2 separate regions of the Homo sapiens genome follow, and region 1 is linked to region 2. The links are contacts of gene promoters, found by promoter capture Hi-C in blood cells and fetal thymus (Javierre and others, 2016). All regions are on one chromosome and are shown on one strand. The core of a region is centred on a gene start or on the middle of the fragment in contact, and the rest is flanking DNA. Distances in the headings are between cores, read along the strand shown. Region 1 holds the start of TRI-AAT5-2 (tRNA-Ile (anticodon AAT) 5-2). Region 2 holds the start of H2BC6-AS1 (H2BC6 antisense RNA 1).

Region 1 (3,521 bases), core at 870-3,369, 1.0 Mb after region 2:
CATCTTACACTGCACTGAAGAGAGGAAGATAACCCAGGATAGATAGTAGGAAGTGTGGGTGGGTTAACAATTTCTTGTTTTGTTAGTTTTTCTATTACTTCCTTAACAAACTACCACAAATTTAATAGCTTAAAACAACATCCATTCATTATCACACAGTTCTGTGCGTTATAAGTCTGGCAGGGTGTCATCAAACTAATACCAAAACGTCAGCAGGCCCGGCCATGTTCCTCATGGAGGCTCTAGGGGAGAATTCGTTTTCAAACTCACTCAGGTTGTCAGTAGCATTCAGTTCCCTGCAGCTGTAGGACTGAGATAACGGTTTACAGGTTGTTCACAGTTTCTAGCAGATGCCTGAGTTCTCTGGCTGGTGGCTCCCTTCGTTTTCAAAGTCAGCAACTACCTGTGGAATCCTTCTTATACTTAAATCTGTATATATCATCTAATATACAATGGACTAAGTAGTAGGTACTCTTCATTAATTTATTCTAAAGAAATCTTTTTCAGTCGCTGACTTTGAGCTACTTACTGTTTTTGACGTGAAAAATCACAGCACTGAGCAAAACAGAGGGAGCCCCTTCCCTTTGTGATTCGCCCACTATGTCCTTGGCGCTGTTTTTGAGCCATTATTTACCTCATTATTTATCAATATTGTTAATGTCATTTTCATAGCAACCCATGTTTTAAAATAAGAGAAGGGTAAAAATATGTTGGGAGGATGAAGAGTGAAGGAAGAAATGTAAATGAGACACGTGCCAGGCACACGGGGACCCAGTGACCAGACTCCAAGAAAGCGCAGGACAGGGCTGGGCGCGGTGGCTCACGCCTGTAATCCCAGCACTTTGGGAGGCCGAGGCGGGCGGATCACGAGGTCAGGAGATCGAGACCATCCCGGCTAAAACGGTGAAACCCCGTCTCTACTAAAAATACAAAAAATTAGCCGGGCGTAGTGGCGGGCGCCTGTAGTCCCAGCTACTTGGGAGGCTGAGGCAGGAGAATGGCGTGAACCCGGGAGGCGGAGCTTGCAGTGAGCCGAGATTGCGCCACTGCACTCCAGCCTGGGCGACAGAGCGAGACTCCGTCTCAAAAAAAAAAAAAAAAAAGAAAAAGAAAAAAAGAAAAAAAAAAAGAAAGCGCAGGACAGAAAGAGCGAGGTGCTAAGACTTAGAGTGGACCCAGAGGCTCTGGCCCTCCTGTCTCCCACCACGCACTCCATTTTTGTCACATTTCAAACCTATCGCTTTTACGATATATGTTCAAAAATTGTTTAATGAACTGTAAATGGCTTGGTAAGGGCCGCATCGTAAATGGCTTGGTATGGGCCACATCGAGAACAGCTGTCAAATATAAGCCTAAGGCTAACCACGGATCTATTTTAACACTGAGCAGTTGTGGCTGAGTGTCTGGAGCTTGGCAGAAAGCAACGTCACAAGTCTGGCTTTTTCCCACGTAGACTGAACCCTCGCCCTCAAAGCTACAAACACAACAATTTAACCAACTGAGTGATCAACTAGGAGAAGAATCAATATGATCTCTTTCAAAAGCTTAAAATATGTCAAAATAGTATTATCTCAGAAAGTTTTTTTTTCCCAAAATAATACAAGACATTATCGAATTCTTATTTAACCCTTTTCTAAAATCACCCACCCACCTCATTGAATTTCCTTTAAAAAATCTTCATCCTGGCCGGGCGCGATGGCTCATGCCTGTAATCTCAGCACTTTGGGAGGCCAAGGCAGGCGGATCACCTGAGGTCAGGAGTTCAAGACTAGCCTGGCCAACATGGTGAAACTCCGTCTCTACTGAAAATACAAAAATTACCCAGGCATCGTGGCACACGCCTGTAATCCCAGCTACTTGGGAGGCTGAGGCAGAAGAATTGCTTAAACCTGGGAGGCGGAGGTTGCAGCGAGCCAAGATCGCGCCGCTGCACTCCAGCCTGGGCGTCAGAGCAAGACTCTGTCTCAAAAACAAACAAAACAAACAAATAAGAAAAACCTTTTCATCCTAACTCGTATATTATTTCTTCAAAAGAATAAAAAACGTGCAAATCTAATGCTTGTCTAGCTATTGCGACCACATTTACAAATGGATAGGCAGCGCTCCGGAGTTGGATGTAAGACGGTAGTATACAATCCAGGTGTGGTCGATTTAAGAAAAAAAAAAAAGAAAAAAGAAAAAAATTCCTGTCTAGCTAGTGCAACTACATTTATAAATGGATAGGCGAGGCTACGGAGTTCGATGTAAAACCGAAGTTTACAAGCGAGGTGTGGTCGGTGTAAAATAAAAACGAAAAAGAAGAAAAAAAAAAAAAACAAACCCACGGAAGTGGCCCGTACGGGGATCGAACCCGCGACCTTGGCGTTATTAGCACCACGCTCTAACCAACTGAGCTAACCGGCCTCCTTGGTGGGAGGGTCTTTTCTTATGTTTATTTAAATCATACCTGATCCATGCCCGCTGAATTTTTTTTTTTTTGTAATAGAAGCGTTACTTTCCCTTTTATTAATAAAATATATTTTTTTTTAAGAAAAGGAGAATTCCTCACTGTAGGCACAGGAAAACCATGCTGTTTCAGGGAAAACAATCTCAAACCACTGATTCTGACTGGAGAAAACTCAGATTCAACGACCCCAAGCAGGGCTTCCTTCCCCTCACCAGGTGAAGGACTCAGAACAAACCAAAAAGCAGCTCCAAGCTTGCGATCGCGGCCAGTTCCTCACGGAACCAACCGCAGAGCCGCCGCAGGTTCGCAGGATCGGAGGGTTCGGAGGACTCGGAGGGTGCGGATTCCTCTCTGCTCCTTGAGACCATTCCAGCCAGGTGGGCTCTTAGGCCTGGGAACCTGGGAAAGTGCACTGTCTCGCCTCCTGGCCTCGCGGTGGTTCCGCAGTCACCAGGACCCGAAATTCACAGCTGTGCGTCCTAAGCTTGCAGCTCCACAAACGATAAAATCAGACTTGGCCCTGCAGTGCCGGGCACCGGGCCCTTGGTGATGCTCGAGTGCCGGGCTGGCATCGGCGTAAATGAAAGGACCAGCGGGACGGCTCCTTTCAAGAGTCTCTGACTCCTTCCGTCCCGGGAAGACCAAGACACCCACATCTAAGACAAGGGAAGTCACCATTATCTACACCAATGATAAACGCCGGTATCTGGGAGGAACTGAGCCCAGGACCGGGTCAGGCAACTCAGAGTGTTGGGACAACTAAGTCCCTCTTCAAAGACTCAACTTTCTTGTCATAAGTTGCAAAAGTTGTACGTCAATCCTGCCTGCCCCCCGCCCCCCACCACACACATACACTCCTTTTTTTCGCAAATCCAGGGTTTACCCTATTTGCCAAAGTTTAAGTCTTAGCCAATCGGGATCAGCTTAGATTGTGCGGTCCAACCCCAGCCAATAGGGGAAGGACACAGAAACAGGAACTGCGTTAGGATTAAAAACTCCTTACCTCCTTTGTTTGGTGTGCTCTTGCAATTGTAACAGGCAAGGAGCACCCTTCTGCAGAAGTAAAGATGCCTTG
Region 2 (3,823 bases), core at 490-2,989:
ATACATAGAACTTAGGAAGTCTCATCTGCCTGAAAATGACTGTGTGGATCCCACCCAAATCCAACTCATCCTGGTTTGCTGCACACTGGTTCATCAAAAGAAGGTTACCGAGGGGAAGGAACTAAAGGTGTTTGCACTTCATGTTACTTTTTGAGTTTATAAACATAAAAACAGAATTTACTTCTGTTACAGACCTAGTTACTGGGAATTCATTACTTGCCATGGACTACCTTTGCTAAGAAAAGTCTGAATGAGAAGATGGCAGGACGTCTGAAAAAAAAAGTTATAATTAATAAAATCTGCGGAGAATTGTAAATTCTGCCTTCATTGTTGATCCAAACCTTTCTTCTAAGACCTCCCCTTTCTAGACATCTATCTACCTATTTTCACTTTACTTTCCAGCATCAAGGAGGTCTGAGTGGATAAGGCCTAAGCACTGATGTGGCTTTGGTAATGAACCTGAAGTTAAAAACTGGTTAGCTTATGCTAAGCTGCCATTTGAAAGGTCTCCTCCAGCATCTGAATTAAGGGAAACAATGTTTTGAAGCAGTCACAAAACTTTTCTGATGCATTAGATCTGAGGTAGGACCTGATAATTTGTACTTCTAAATTATGCAGGTGATGCTGATGCTGCTGGTCCGGAGACCACTTTGGAGAGTTTTACTTTAAAGGAAATGAAACTGCCCTAAAATGCTAATACTAAATAGCCACACAAAGCCGGAAAAAAGCAAAGAATTTCAAACCGAAGATGAGAGGTCCTGAAAAATAACAGCGGTCATCCTACTCCCGGTGCGGCTATGCGGCCATGAAAAGGAGTCTTGGGGCCGGTCGTGCCCCTCCACGCAGGCTCCCTCATAGGGTCATCCCATCAACCCTCGCCAAAAACGCCGGCCCCCTCATAGGGCCGTCCGGCCACGCCCCTCCGTGCCCTAACCACAGAGCCACACGTTACGCCGCCGCCCCGTTACGCCCATCCGGCTCCCGCATAGGGCGTCACGTACGTTTAACGTCGGCCCGGCGCGCGCGTCCGGGAGGTTGCCCGTAGGCCGCTAACTGGTGGTTCCCAGTCCCCGCCGACTCGGCCTCTTTCTTCTGCGGCCACCAGATCGCGGGATATCGGAGACTTCGAACAATCCGCTGGAGTCCTTTACAGTTTAAAAACAGAGGACCGGCCGGGCGCGGTGGCTCACGCCTGTAATCCCAGCACTTTGGGAGGCCGAGGCGGGCGGATCACGAGTTCAGGAGATAGAGACCATCCTGGCTAACACCGTGAGACCCCGTCCCTATCAAAAGTACAAAAAAATTAGCCGGGTGTGGTGGCACGCGCCTGTAGTCCCAGCTACTCAGGAGGCTGAGGCAGAAGAATCGCTAGAACCAGGGAGGCGGAGGTTGCAGTGACCGAGATCGCGCCGCTGCACTCCAGCCTAGGCGACAGAGCGAGACTGCGTCTCAAAACAAAAAAAACGGAGGATCGAAAATTTTGAAGACTGAGAGCAAGGCAACAATCTTCCCTTGACCTTTTTGCTCCTCTCACAAGGGTTTTTCAGACGGCTGAAACCAACGAAAAGAGTGAGGAAGCAGGCAGAAAATTTCAGCTTTAGTCTCTCAGCATCCTCCTGCTTTCTTCTCGGGGAGCTGGCACTTCCCCCTTCTCTAGTAGCTGTAAATACGCCTCCCAACTCCAAGGAGACCTTTCTTGCATCTCCCTTACTGTTCTCACGCCTGTAGGGCTCTTCGTGTGAGGATTCAGTGTATGTATGTATGTATATGAATGTGTGCGAATAATTATTTCCTAATTGAGTTTTTTTTTAAAAAAATCATCTTCCGGTACACGCAGTGCCGTACTCCATTAAACAGCAGGCACGGTGTCTAGGGTCCGCAGTTCTTTTGGAGGCTCATGAAAATATTTTAATTTCTTCTAAAGTCAGAAGGAAAAAAATGAACATTTAAGTCGAAGAAGATGTTACATATTAATCTTCATATGACTTTAATTTTTTTTTTTTTTTTTTTGAAACGGAGTCTCGCTCTGTCCCCCAGGCTGGAGTACAGTGGCGCAGTCTCGGCTCACTGCAAGCTCTGCCTCCCGGGTTCACGCCATTCTCCTGCCTCAGCTTCCCGAGTAGCTGGGACTACAGTCACCACGCCCGACTAAGTTTTTTTGTATTTTTTAGTAGAGACGGGGTTTCACCGTGTTAGCCAGGATGGTCTCGATCTCCTGACCTCGTGATCCGCCCGCCTCGGCCTCCCAAAGTGCTGGGATTACAGGCGTGAGCCACAACGCCTGGCCTATGCCCACTAATTCCAATTCTTATTTGATCTAATTGTTTATAGATTCTTGTGAACTTTTACCTTGACAATTATGTTATTTTCAAAGATAATCATCTTTTCCTATTGAATCCTTGCTCTTCTGACTGCCTGTTCCTATCTCATGGTATTGGCCAAACCCTGTGATGCCGTGTTGAATAGGAGTACTTTCTCACCACACTTGTCTTCCTTCCGCCTCTATGGGAATCCTTCCAAAACGGCACCATTAAGTGTTATACTCGCTGTAGCTCCTCCTTATGAAGTTCTCTTCTCATTGTAGTCTGTTAAGTGTTTATGATTAAAGAGTGTTATATTTTGTTAAATGCTTTCGCAGTATCTTTGGAGATGATCATGTTTTTTCTTTATTAATCTCTTTTTTATTTTATTTATTTTATTTTATTTTATTTTATTTTTTATTATTTTAGTTTTTATTTTGAGATGGAATCTCACTCTGTCTCCCAGGCTGGAGTGCAGTGCCCTGATCTAAGCTCATTACAACCTCTACCTCCCAGGTTCAAGCGATTCTTCTGCCTCACTTTCCCAAGTAACAGGGACTACAGGTGCGTGCCACCACATCTGGCTAAGTTTTGTATTATCAGAAGAAGATAGGCCGCCATTGGCCAGGCTGGCCTTGAACTCCTGACATTAAGTGATCCACCTGCCTCAGCCTCCTAAAGTGCTAGGAATACAGGCGTGAGCCACTGCTCTGGGCCTTCCTTTATTAATTTCTTAAACTGGCAGATTTAGAATACTAAACTTCCTTCTATTCTTAGAATAAACCCTATATAATCAGCTATTTATTTAAATAACATGGTCTCTGCAATTTCTCCTGGTTTCCATTTTTTCTCATAATAGGCATTTTTTTCTAAAAAACAAAAATGAATGTTCATTAGTGAGACAAAACTATAATTTTGTTTTTTTCTTCTTTCTCTCTTCCTTCCTTTTTAAAATTTGTATTCTCCAGTTTTGCTAATAATGTTATACAATTTTACAAGAAAAAAGTGAGTAGGAGAGCTGTTTTTCTATAGTAACAGATTCTGTGAAATAGGTATCATGCCAAGTGAGGTGGCACGTCCCTGTAGTCCCAGCTACTCAGGAGGTGAAGCAGAAGGACCACTTGAGCCCAGGAATTGGAGACTGTAGTGTGCTGCCATCATGCCTGTGTATAGCTTCTGCGCTACAGCCTAGGCAACGTAGCGAGAACCATCTCAGAAAAAAAAAAAAAAAAAAAGAGATAATCTATTCCTCATAAATTCACTAAAACTTGGAATATCTGACCGGACTTGGCAGCATTTGGGTGGAAGGACGTAGAAAATATTTTTTAACTGCCTACCTTATTTTCATAATCATAATTTGTTTAGTCAGCTTGTCTATTTTCTTCTTTTTCTTGAAAATTATTTTCCACTGAGTTTAATTTTTTGTAAAAGTTACACAGCATTCTCTTGTCATTCTTTATATCTCCCTTTTTGTAGTTATGTTCCTTAATTTCTGTAACTTTCTGAAACCAGGGTTAATTTGT

Evidence for each region. The method cuts DNA at HindIII sites, captures the fragments that hold promoters and counts their contacts. A CHiCAGO score of 5 or more calls a contact.
Region 1: a contact is called between a fragment that was not itself captured here and the fragment with the promoter of H2BC6-AS1 in region 2, in 2 of 17 cell types (erythroblasts and naive B cells). The highest score is 6.6, in erythroblasts.

Annotation. Positions count from the first base shown.
Region 1 is chr6:27,174,886-27,178,406 of GRCh38, forward strand. It overlaps TRI-AAT5-2 (tRNA-Ile (anticodon AAT) 5-2), which reads right to left and starts at 2,403; the gene lies at 2,330-2,403. RefSeq lists a cis regulatory region at 2,242-3,319, a silencer at 2,309-2,458 and enhancers at 2,661-2,860, 3,051-3,150, 3,501-3,521. The HindIII fragment of the contact is 1,154 bases long and covers 1,543-2,696 here.
Region 2 is chr6:26,171,034-26,174,856 of GRCh38, forward strand. H2BC6-AS1 (H2BC6 antisense RNA 1) reads right to left here and starts at 1,740. Exons shown (of 3, transcript NR_186648.1): 1 at 1,002-1,740. It also overlaps a transcript of H2BC5 not described here. RefSeq lists an enhancer at 814-1,706. The HindIII fragment of the contact is 22,011 bases long and covers 1-3,823 here.